Regions from separate parts of the Homo sapiens genome. Here all the other regions are linked to region 2. Evidence: promoter capture Hi-C in 16 types of primary human blood cells and fetal thymus (Javierre and others, 2016). All regions are on one chromosome and are shown on one strand. Each heading gives the region's core, a stretch centred on a gene start or on the middle of the fragment in contact. The rest is flanking DNA. Distances are from core to core; before and after follow the strand shown. Region 1 holds the start of HNRNPA2B1 (heterogeneous nuclear ribonucleoprotein A2/B1). Region 2 overlaps KBTBD2 (kelch repeat and BTB domain containing 2). Region 3 holds the start of CDK13 (cyclin dependent kinase 13).

What was found. Contacts are between HindIII fragments. The CHiCAGO score rates a contact against its expected background, and 5 or more counts as called.
Region 1: the fragment with the promoter of HNRNPA2B1 here is called in contact with a fragment that was not itself captured in region 2 in 1 of 17 cell types (non-activated CD4 T cells); the score reaches 5.9 in non-activated CD4 T cells.
Region 3: the fragment with the promoter of CDK13 here is called in contact with a fragment that was not itself captured in region 2 in 1 of 17 cell types (fetal thymus); the score reaches 7.7 in fetal thymus.

The regions. Positions count from the first base shown.
Region 1 is chr7:26,197,968-26,201,995 of GRCh38, reverse strand. It overlaps HNRNPA2B1 (heterogeneous nuclear ribonucleoprotein A2/B1), which reads left to right and starts at 1,250. Exons shown (of 11, transcript NM_002137.4): 1 at 1,250-1,424. The coding sequence starts at 1,419. It overlaps CBX3 (chromobox 3), which reads right to left and starts at 251. Exons shown (of 6, transcript NM_016587.4): 1 at 170-251. RefSeq lists a silencer at 1-366 and enhancers at 1,307-1,696, 862-1,834, 1,807-1,926, 1,835-2,808. The HindIII fragment of the contact is 8,290 bases long and covers 1-3,430 here.
Region 2 is chr7:32,887,046-32,890,581 of GRCh38, reverse strand. The region is part of intron 1 of KBTBD2 (kelch repeat and BTB domain containing 2); the gene reads left to right. Among named protein-coding and RNA genes, the nearest start is that of KBTBD2, 2.9 kb to the left of the region's middle. RefSeq lists an enhancer at 1,297-1,822. The HindIII fragment of the contact is 2,297 bases long and covers 299-2,595 here.
Region 3 is chr7:39,947,729-39,951,505 of GRCh38, reverse strand. It overlaps CDK13 (cyclin dependent kinase 13), which reads right to left and starts at 1,250. Exons shown (of 14, transcript NM_003718.5): 1 at 1-1,250. The coding sequence starts at 864. It overlaps CDK13-DT (CDK13 divergent transcript), which reads left to right and starts at 2,087. Exons shown (of 1, transcript NR_158201.1): 1 at 2,087-3,777. RefSeq lists enhancers at 1-42, 1,183-1,462, 963-1,881, 1,933-2,182, 2,253-2,382 and 3 more and silencers at 253-312, 383-672, 1,463-1,692. The HindIII fragment of the contact is 3,453 bases long and covers 1-2,551 here.

The sequences.
Region 1 (4,028 bases), core at 1-2,500, 6.7 Mb after region 2:
AGGCCAGCCGCGAGGCCACCGCCCGACCCTCCACTCCTTCCCGCAGCTCCCGGCGCGGGGTCCGGCGAGAAGGGGAGGGGAGGGGAGCGGAGAACCGGGCCCCCGGGACGCGTGTGGCATCTGAAGCACCACCAGCGAGCGAGAGCTAGAGAGAAGGAAAGCCACCGACTTCACCGCCTCCGAGCTGCTCCGGGTCGCGGGTCTGCAGCGTCTCCGGCCCTCCGCGCCTACAGCTCAAGCCACATCCGAAGGGGGAGGGAGCCGGGAGCTGCGCGCGGGGCCGCCGGGGGGAGGGGTGGCACCGCCCACGCCGGGCGGCCACGAAGGGCGGGGCAGCGGGCGCGCGCCCGGCGGGGGGAGGGGCCGCGCGCCGCGCCCGCTGGGAATTGGGGCCCTAGGGGGAGGGCGGAGGCGCCGACGACCGCGGCACTTACCGTTCGCGGCGTGGCGCCCGGTGGTCCCCAAGGGGAGGGAAGGGGGAGGCGGGGCGAGGACAGTGACCGGAGTCTCCTCAGCGGTGGCTTTTCTGCTTGGCAGCCTCAGCGGCTGGCGCCAAAACCGGACTCCGCCCACTTCCTCGCCCCTGCGGTGCGAGGGTGTGGAATCCTCCAGACGCTGGGGGAGGGGGAGTTGGGAGCTTAAAAACTAGTACCCCTTTGGGACCACTTTCAGCAGCGAACTCTCCTGTACACCAGGGGTCAGTTCCACAGACGCGGGCCAGGGGTGGGTCATTGCGGCGTGAACAATAATTTGACTAGAAGTTGATTCGGGTGTTTCCGGAAGGGGCCGAGTCAATCCGCCGAGTTGGGGCACGGAAAACAAAAAGGGAAGGCTACTAAGATTTTTCTGGCGGGGGTTATCATTGGCGTAACTGCAGGGACCACCTCCCGGGTTGAGGGGGCTGGATCTCCAGGCTGCGGATTAAGCCCCTCCCGTCGGCGTTAATTTCAAACTGCGCGACCGTTTCTCACCTGCCTTGCGCCAAGGCAGGGGGCGGGACCCTATTCCAAGAGGTAGTAACTAGCAGGACTCTAGCCTTCCGCAATTCATTGAGCGCATTTACGGAAGTAACGTCGGGTACTGTCTCTGGCCGCAAGGGTGGGAGGAGTACGCATTTGGCGTAAGGTGGGGCGTAGAGCCTTCCCGCCATTGGCGGCGGATAGGGCGTTTACGCGACGGCCTGACGTAGCGGAAGACGCGTTAGTGGGGGGGAAGGTTCTAGAAAAGCGGCGGCAGCGGCTCTAGCGGCAGTAGCAGCAGCGCCGGGTCCCGTGCGGAGGTGCTCCTCGCAGAGTTGTTTCTCGAGCAGCGGCAGTTCTCACTACAGCGCCAGGACGAGTCCGGTTCGTGTTCGTCCGCGGAGATCTCTCTCATCTCGCTCGGCTGCGGGAAATCGGGCTGAAGCGACTGAGTCCGCGATGGAGGTAACGGGTTTGAAATCAATGAGTTATTGAAAAGGGCATGGCGAGGCCGTTGGCGCCTCAGTGGAAGTCGGCCAGCCGCCTCCGTGGGAGAGAGGCAGGAAATCGGACCAATTCAGTAGCAGTGGGGCTTAAGGTTTATGAACGGGGTCTTGAGCGGAGGCCTGAGCGTACAAACAGCTTCCCCACCCTCAGCCTCCCGGCGCCATTTCCCTTCACTGGGGGTGGGGGATGGGGAGCTTTCACATGGCGGACGCTGCCCCGCTGGGGTGAAAGTGGGGCGCGGAGGCGGGAATTCTTATTCCCTTTCTAAAGCACGCTGCTTCGGGGGCCACGGCGTCTCCTCGGCGAGCGTTTCGGCGGGCAGCAGGTCCTCGTGAGCGAGGCTGCGGAGCTTCCCCTCCCCCTCTCTCCCGGGAACCGGATTTGGCGGCCGCCATTTTCATGGCTCGCCTTCCTCTCAGCGTTTTCCTTATAACTCTTTTATTTTCTTAGTGTGCTTTCTCTATCAAGAAGTAGAAGTGGTTAACTATTTTTTTTTCTTCTCGGGCTGTTTTCATATCGTTTCGAGGTGGATTTGGAGTGTTTTGTGAGCTTGGATCTTTAGAGTCCTGCGCACCTCATTAAAGGCGCTCAGCCTTCCCCTCGATGAAATGGCGCCATTGCGTTCGGAAGCCACACCGAAGAGCGGGGAGGGGGGGTGCTCCGGGTTTGCGGGCCCGGTTTCAGAGAAGATATCACCACCCAGGGCGTCGGGCCGGGTTCAATGCGAGCCGTAGGACAAAGAAACCATTTTATGTTTTTCCTGTCTTTTTTTTCCTTTGAGTAACGGTTTTATCTGGGTCTGCAGTCAGTAAAACGACAGATGAACCGCGGCAAAATAAACATAAATTGGAAGCCATCGGCCACGAGGGGCAGGGACGAAGGTGGTTTTCTGGGCGGGGGAGGGATATTCGCGTCAGAATCCTTTACTGTTCTTAAGGATTCCGTTTAAGTTGTAGAGCTGACTCATTTTAAGTAATGTTGTTACTGAGAAGTTTAACCCTTACGGGACAGATCCATGGACCTTTATAGATGATTACGAGGAAAGTGAAATAACGATTTTGTCCTTAGTTATACTTCGATTAAAACATGGCTTCAGAGGCTCCTTCCTGTAATGCGTATGGATTGATGTGCAAAACTGTTTTGGGCCTGGGCCGCTCTGTATTTGAACTTTGTTACTTTTCTCATTTTGTTTGCAATCTTGGTTGAACATTACATTGATAAGCATAAGGTCTCAAGCGAAGGGGGTCTACCTGGTTATTTTCTTTGACCCTAAGCACGTTTATAAAATAACATTGTTTAAAATCGATAGTGGACATCGGGTAAGTTTGGATAAATTGTGAGGTAAGTAATGAGTTTTTGCTTTTTGTTAGTGATTTGTAAAACTTGTTATAAATGTACATTATCCGTAATTTCAGTTTAGAGATAACCTATGTGCTGACGACAATTAAGAATAAAAACTAGCTGAAAAAATGAAAATAACTATCGTGACAAGTAACCATTTCAAAAGACTGCTTTGTGTCTCATAGGAGCTAGTTTGATCATTTCAGTTAATTTTTTCTTTAATTTTTACGAGTCATGAAAACTACAGGAAAAAAATCTGAACTGGGTTTTACCACTACTTTTTAGGAGTTGGGAGCATGCGAATGGAGGGAGAGCTCCGTAGAACTGGGATGAGAGCAGCAATTAATGCTGCTTGCTAGGAACAAAAAATAATTGATTGAAAATTACGTGTGACTTTTTAGTTTGCATTATGCGTTTGTAGCAGTTGGTCCTGGATATCACTTTCTCTCGTTTGAGGTTTTTTAACCTAGTTAACTTTTAAGACAGGTTTCCTTAACATTCATAAGTGCCCAGAATACAGCTGTGTAGTACAGCATATAAAGATTTCAGCTCTGAGGTTTTTCCTATTGACTTGGAAAATTGTTTTGTGCCTGTCGCTTGCCACATGGCCAATCAAGTAAGCTTCAGCTTTCAGTAATTGTTATCTTAGAGATTATGCCACGTGAATGTATTTTATTGTACATATGGTTAAGCTGAGTAATTCATATTCTGTATTGTCATATATCAAATATAGACATGTCCACCAAAAATTAAACTTTTTAAGCTTCGAGTGCTGCTGGTCATAAAAATTAATTTGTCCTGGTTATAAGAGTAATTTTTAAGGTTATTTCTAATGCATATCTTTAAATATTTTCGTAACTGAGAGTCATATGGAGAAACTTAGTGTTTGTTGTAAAAAGTTGTGTTTTTTTGGCTGAGATACTTAGAATCACCACCAGAGGGGGCAGTTAAGGGAAAATAAATGATACTTTTCAGATATTGAATAGTGAAATAAAAACTTTGGGTCATAAGTAATGAACCAAGAGTTATTTTCTGATGTTTAAAAATAGAAATTTGCGTTTTTAGGTTGTAGGGTTGAAATTTTTGGTAAAGATTCTTTAATAATCCTTTGATAATCACGGTCTACATTTGTTTATTTTTCCTTAGAAAGTTTTTTTTTTAATTAATAATTTAAGATAATTTAATGTTGAGTAAATTTATATCAAGCATTAATGACTTTGA
Region 2 (3,536 bases), core at 198-2,697:
ACCCTATCAACGCTGTGCACTGACCAAAATGATATTTTCTTTTATCGAGGCAACTAATTAACAGGGATCTTCCCCCTCTTCCCTCTGAGTTGTACATTTTTGCCGAATTTGAGTAGTATGGGTCTTAGATCTCTTGTAATTGTGAATGACTTAGTTTGGTTAACCTTTGATAAGGACTTTTTTCCCCGACTTTTTTTTCTGATCTAAAGTAAATTGAAAAGCCAGTCGGTTGTTTTCTAATCTCGATGATGTGGAATTTTGCTATTCTTTCCATCTGGCTGATAACTAATGTTAAGCTTACTTCTTCACTTTGATCTTCTGTTGGCTTAGTGCTTATTGAAGCCCTTTTAGGTTGGGGCCTGGAATCCTCAAGAGGTTGTTTTCTGTCAGTAACTCGGGAGTGCTGTGGCCTTTCTGTTGAGCATGCTCTGTAGTCCACACGTTTCCACATAGTGGTGTTTTCTTTGCACAGTTTTGTAGGAAGACTTTATGAGTGCTGTAACTCTACTCCCCTTTTTGCTCTCATAAGAAGCATTATAAAATGTTAACTTATGTTATTCACAGGGCATGTAAGGAGATGGGAAGGAATAGAGGTATCAGTACATATGTCCATGCTCCTCCATAGATTTTCTTCTGGTTGGTAGAAATGTTGAGCTTTTCATTCCTAAACATTGAACATTGAATGTGCAAGGTGAATTCCTAGAAACTTGAATGCAGTCTTAAAAGCCAAATGATAACATTGGTTTTTCCAAAAATGTTACACATTTAGAAAAGAGTCCCCCTTCCCCTCTTCTCTTTGCCCACATTCCTAAGACAAGTAAGGCCAGGAAAAAGGATTGATCCTGGTGTCATAAAATATGAGTGAAAATTTCAAAGTCCTTTGTTAGCTTAATCTTTTCAGTTTTGTAGAGTTTGAATAGACCAACTGATACTTAAATAACTCAGTATTAGAAATGACAGGTTGATCTCAAGTAATTTTTTTTTGAGACAGAGTCTCTTGTCACTCAGGCTGGTGTGCAGTGTCACGATCTCGGCTCACTGCAACCTCCGCCTTCAGGGTTCAAGTGATTCTCCTGCTTCAGCCTCCTGAGTAGCTGGGATTACAGGCGCGCCCCACCAGGCCTGGCTAATTTTTGTATTTTTAGTAGAGATGAGGGTTCACCATGTTGGTCAGGCTGGTCTCGAGCTCCTGACCTCGTGATCCCCTCACCTCGGCCTTCCAAAGTGCTGGGATTACAGGCGTGAGCTACCGCAGACGGCCGATCTCAAGTAATTTTTTTTTTTTTTTTAAGAGACGGAGTCTCGCTGTGTCGCCCAGGCTGGAGTGCGGTGGCGCGATCTTGGCTCACTGCAAGCTCCGCCTCCCGGGTTCACGCCATTCTCCTGCCTCAGCTTCCTGAGTAGCCCACGCTGGGCTAATTTTTGTATTTTTAGTAGAGATGGGGTTTCACCGTGTTAGCCAGGATGGTCTCGATCTCCTGACCTGGTGATCTGCCCGCCTCGGCCTCCCAAAGTGCTGGGATTTACTGGTGTGAGCCATTGCGCCTGGCCACTTTTCCCCAGCTTTCTTAAGTCACTGCGCAGAGGTGAGAGGAAAAAGGAAAAGTGATACCCAAAATAAAAGGACATAGTATACTCATATGATTATTGTATCGCAGGTGGCATTGCCTTTATGTTCTTGTTTAATTTTTTAAAACTGAGATAACTTGTTAATCATAATATAGTACAGCTTGTACTTGTGACCTGAATTTACTTAGGGTGCTGAGCGTAATTAACCTGATGGAGCCATGTCATCTATCAGTATGGTTGGAAAGAGAGAACAGACCTAAGCTCTGAATGTGACTAGAGCAGAGGAAGCTATGCTGAAATTTTTTTTTTTTTTTTTTTGGGACGGAGTCTCGCTGTGTCGCCCAGGCTGGAGTGCAGTGATGCGATCTCGGCTCACTGCAAGTATGCTGAAATTTTTAAAACTTGATAGATTCTTCAAAAGGCCAGGTGTTTGTTTTTTTGGTTTTTTTGTTTTTTTTTGGTTTGTTTTTTAATTGATGCCTGTCACAACTCCAGAAAATTCTGTTTGTGTAGCAGTTGACAATCTAAAAAACAAATGGTCTTTTCCAGACATTCTCAACTGTCGTGGTTGTTTTGATAACTTGAAAGCAAACTGTTTCTAGCACCCATCTCTTGTCCTTCCTAAGGAGAAAACTATCTCATTGAAATAAAGAAAGGCTTGTTTTATGACTGGTGCCTTTCTGGACTCTCATTTAGTTTTTTACACTGACATCAGCCTCCTCAAGATTGGTCGTCTTTTAAGCACTAGTTTGTTTCATTATTTGTACCATCAAAATATGTGAGAAAAGGAAAAAAAAAGGAAAAATTATCTTAATATTTTAGAACACTGAATTCAGATTTCAAGTGTCAAATGTTTGCAAAAAAGTCCCAATATTCTCTGAAAACATTGGATTTCTCTTATGTAAAATACCATTTAGACAGAATGAAAAAAGAGAACTGTATTTGGAGTGCTGAGACCTTGAAATTGGAATCTTCGGACCTGGTGAAGGTGTGGAATCCAGGAGTTGGGAAAGTGCTGCAAAAGCTTCACCAGTGGGTGGGTTAATAAAAATAATTTCGAATATCTGTGTAGTGCTGTGTGTCAGGTACTGAACCAAGTATGAAATGTAATCCTAGAACAATTCATTGAGAAGAGAGTTGTACTTTTAACTACATTTTATAGATGAGCAAACTGAGGCATAGAGAATAAATAACTTAAAAAGGGCCACACAGCTATTAAGTTGCAGAACTGGGGCTTTAACCCAAGTAGTTTGGGTTTGTACTCAATTATTTTTCAACGGTTGACCTCCATGGAGAACGCCTTGGATCTTTTCCAACAAAAATTTTTAATCTTCTCTATTGACATTTGTAGCATTGGGAGATGCAGCACTCCCTAAGTTAGTAATGTACAATTTGAATGTGCTTCCTACAGGTGAATGATTTATAGCCGCACTGCCCCTCCTGGAGGGAGACCTATCATTCCTTCATTCCTACTATATAATTTATTTTATTTTTAGTTGGCAAATAATTGTATGTATTTGTGGGCTACAATGTGATGTTTCAATCTATGTACACATTGAGGAATGATTAAATCAGGCTATTTACATCTGTCACCTCATGTACTTATTTTTTTTGTGGTGAGAACATTTAGAATCTTTAGCAGTTTTGAAATACACAGTATATTATTGTTAACTGCGATCATCAACATGCTGTGTAACAGATCAGTAACACTTATTCCTCCTGTCCAATGGAAACTTTGTACCTACTACTGTGCTTATTGTAGCAGGCCTTGCTAGCAGCCTCCTTCCCATCTTTTTATCCTTTCTTCCTTTTTCATCCACAGCTCAGTTAATTGCTGATTGGTTTCTTTATCACATTCAATAGTTCTTTAATCCTTTATTCGTTCCTCAGTCTCTATATTCTGCCTGGTTAACATTGGAAAAGCTTGCTTTGCTTCTATTTGTGTTTCCAGGCTACTCAGTGGGAGG
Region 3 (3,777 bases), core at 1-2,500, 7.1 Mb before region 2:
CTCCTTGGACGACTTAGTCCGGCTGCGGTGGGCCTTCGAGTCCCGGTCCTTGCGGCTGCTACTGCTGCTGGATGTGGCCGAAGCGCTTTTCCGGCGGCCGCCGCTGCTGCTGCTGCTGCCGCTCTTGGCGACCTCGGCCCGTTCCTCGCCGCTGTGGCTGTGGCGGCTGCGGGACTTGGAGGCCTCGCTGCCACCGCGCTGCCCATCCCGCCGCCGGTGCTCGCGGTGGCGCTCCTTGCTGCGGCCACTGCTGCTGCGGCGGTCCCGGCGGGGCCTGCGCTCCGACCCCTCCCCGCGCCGCTGGGTGCCGGAGGAGGAGGCCGGACTCCCGCCGCTGCCCCCCGTTCCCCCGGCAGCCGTCGCCGCCGTTGCCGCGCTGGCCCCCCCCAGCAGCAGCCCCTGCTCGGACTGGGAGCTCACATCCTCGTATTCCACCAGCGGGGTCACACCCCCGCCGCTACTAGCACCGCCACCGCCGTCCTGCTGCGGCTGGGGCAGCGAGAAGACCCGACGCTTCTCCGCCTCCTGCCCGGCGCGGGGCCCGCGACGCCGCTTCTGCCGCCCTCCTGCGCGCCTCTTGCCTCTCGCCAGCCGCTTGACCTCCAGAGGGGGGCCCGGGCTGAAGCAAGAGGAGGAGGCCGCGGCGGCGGCGGCTGCGGCGGCGGCCGTGCCGGGAGCAGCCAGGAAGAGCAGAGGCGGCGGGGGCGGCGGCGGTTGCAGGAGCTGCGGCTGCAGGAGCGGCAACAGCAGCGGCGGCTGCTGAGGGGACAGGAATCGCCTCCGCTTGCGGCGTTCCTCCAACTTCTTCTCCGCCCAGCTCAGGCCCCCGCCTCCCCCCAGCGCCGTGTCCGAGCTGCTCGGCATCGCCTAGAGCCAGCCGCAGAGCGCGGCGCGGGTGCGGCCTCCTCCCGGGTCAGATCCTGGCCATCTCCCCCGCCGGAAACGGGAGCGGCGGCGGAGGGACACCGAGCACCAGAGCCGGCCGGGAAAAGCGCCACGATAATCCGGGTCGGGACTCGGGTCCCTGGGTTCCAGGTCACAGTGGGGTACGCAGCAGCCTCCGGGCCCCAGGGAAGCAGGAATCCGGGCGGCGGAGCTCCCGATTGCGCTCGTCGTCCTATCCTCGGCAGCGAAAACACCAGATGCGCCGGGCGCTGACCTGCGGGGGAGTCCCGAGTCCTCCAAGTGCCCCCGGGGGTGGGGGAGCGGCCTTGGCCGCGCTCTCGGCTCGGGCAGCGCAACGCGGAAGTACCACCTTCGTCGCCGCTTCACTCCATCGCGCCCTGACGTTGGGTGCAAGTTCAGGGGAGGGGAGTGGGCGAGACAACAACACGCCTCCACCGCCTCCTCCTCGGCGTCGACGTCGTCCTCCTGTGGTGGCGGCGACACACCGCAGGCGCCTCGGAAGTGGCCTGGGCCTGACAACAACTCCCGGCCTAGGGCCTCGCGCACTCTGCGGCCCGCGGGGCTGGGCAGCGGGGCGGGGCGAGGCGGGGGCGACCGGGCTGCGGCTCTCGGTTGGGGCAGCGACTGTGCGGGGCTGGGCGGGGGGCTATTTCCGGGGAGATGGGGGCAGGGGCGTTTCTGAGTCTGTGGCGGTAGGTACGGGCCCTGACTTTCTTCTTCTTTCGCCGCCGCCGCCGCCGCCAGCAGAGGTGGCGGAGCTACCCCTTTCCTCCGCTCCCCCCCTCCACGAGGAGGCTCCTGGTGTGCGCGGCCTGCCCCGGCTCGCTCCTCCCCTTCCCTCTCCGCTCCTCGTCAGGAGGAGGGAGAGCAACGGGACTTGCTGGTTGGGCCCTAACCTCCACAACCCCTCCTTCTCGCCTCGCTCTTTCGGCTTTTCCCCTCAGCCCTGACGTACGACCGGGAGCGCGCCCGCAATTCACGCTCAGAGAAAGCCGAAGATGAGAGGTGGCCGGGGCAAGAGAGGCGGGAACAAAGTTACCGCGCACTGGCGTGCTCGCTCCCGCCAGGGGCCGGCAGGCCGCACCGGAAGTGGCATGATGTAGAAACCGCTCGGCTTCCGGCGAGGGTGGGACTCCGTGTGAAGAAGGGTTAAAGAAAGGAGAGGATTCGTGTGCCGCCCACTGCTGTTGCTTGAGACTCTGCCCGTGGTGGCGCGCCTGTCGTGCTTGTTGCTTGCGTCCAGCGCGCAGTGCCGGTTCCGGCTCTGCAGACGCCGCACTGCCTGCCTGTTGAGCGAAAGGTCACAGTGAGAACAAGTGTTTCTGGAGACTGCGAGGGAAATAATGCTGTTGGTGGCCTTCTGGAGTAGGCAGTTACCCCCCGTGTACCTTCAGTCAAGCCCTGGGAGTGGAACAGCTGCGAAAGGAGAGAAAACACCCCGCAAAACAGGGTGGAGATGGCGTTGGTTTAACTTGTCTCACGTACGCCAAAGTTCGAGGCCCCATTTTTTTTTTTTTTTTTTTTGAGACTGAGTTTCGCTCTCGTTGCCCAGGCTGGAGTGCAATGGTGCGATCTCGGCTCACCGCAACTTCCGCGAGGCCCCTTCTTATCCTAAAAAACACACTTGGGAATCACAGCTCAAGCTTCGGTAACACTATTTACTTTAAAATAAAAATTTTTAAAGCTTTAAATCAATACAGGAAATAAGTGGAATGTTAAAAGGAACTACTGAAAATTCCAAATTCTCAGGAGGCTTGAAATAAAAACATCTTGTGCGAATGAGGACTGCCCTCTTAGTACTTCACCCACTTTCACCTTCATATCTAAACCTTTGGGGTTGCCAAACATAGCCATATAGTGACCTCACATCTCATTTCTTGCCTTAGAATTGCCCTTCAGTTACAGACTAAGCACTCGGGATAATTAGATTAAAATGTAAATGGCTTATTGGCTTTTAGAATGGTTGGAAACGCAAGCTAACCCTGTGCAGTGGCACACGCCTGTAGTCCCAGCTACTCCGGAGGCTGAGGCAGGAGGATCTCTGGAGCTCAAGAGTTCGAGGCTGGAGTGAGCCATGACCGTGCCACAGCACCCCAGCCTGGCCAATCAGCAGGGCGAGGCCCTGCCTCTAATAAAAGAAAAAGCTAAGCCGTCTGTTCAATGACTAAATGTAGTAACCCCTTTGAAAATTCATTTGTTCAGATCATCAGTTGGTTTAGTTCTTAAACACTTGGTATCTATCCATCGTTAATACCTTAGTGTAAATTATTTTAATCAGTTTGACATCACAGTATCACAGACTGGCCTGATTTAAGCTAAGATCAGACTTCACTGACCGAGTACAAAGGATGTTGGTTTGCTGAAGGATAAAGGAGGAGGCAAAGGAATAGGTAATCTTAAAGTCAGAGCATTTCCCAGGAGGGCAGGCCTGGGTGGGCAACACCATGGGATGGGCATTGGGAAACTGAATAGAAAAATAGGGGGCAGGGTTCCTAAAACAAATTTCTGGTTGACAGTATTGTTGAGTGAAGGTCCTGTAGCCAGCCTCCTACCAAAGACTGTTTAGCAAGTGGCTTTTTCAGAAACATGTAGGATCAACTTGTTCCATCGTCCTACGTTAGATAGACTGGAATAACAGAACAAAGAGAGCAAATAAGAGGTTTAGCTTGCAGCTCCCCTCGTGTACAACCAGTTCCACTTGAGAATGTCATCTTCTATCATATATTTTCAAAGAAAACTTGATCCATAGTAAATGGATAATTCCCATGTGTAAGTGTATTAAATGGAGAAGAAGGGAAAAAAAGTAAATGGATAGTTCCCAATCCAGGGTGCAAACAAAAAACATGTACTAAAATATTTTTACTGTGGTTC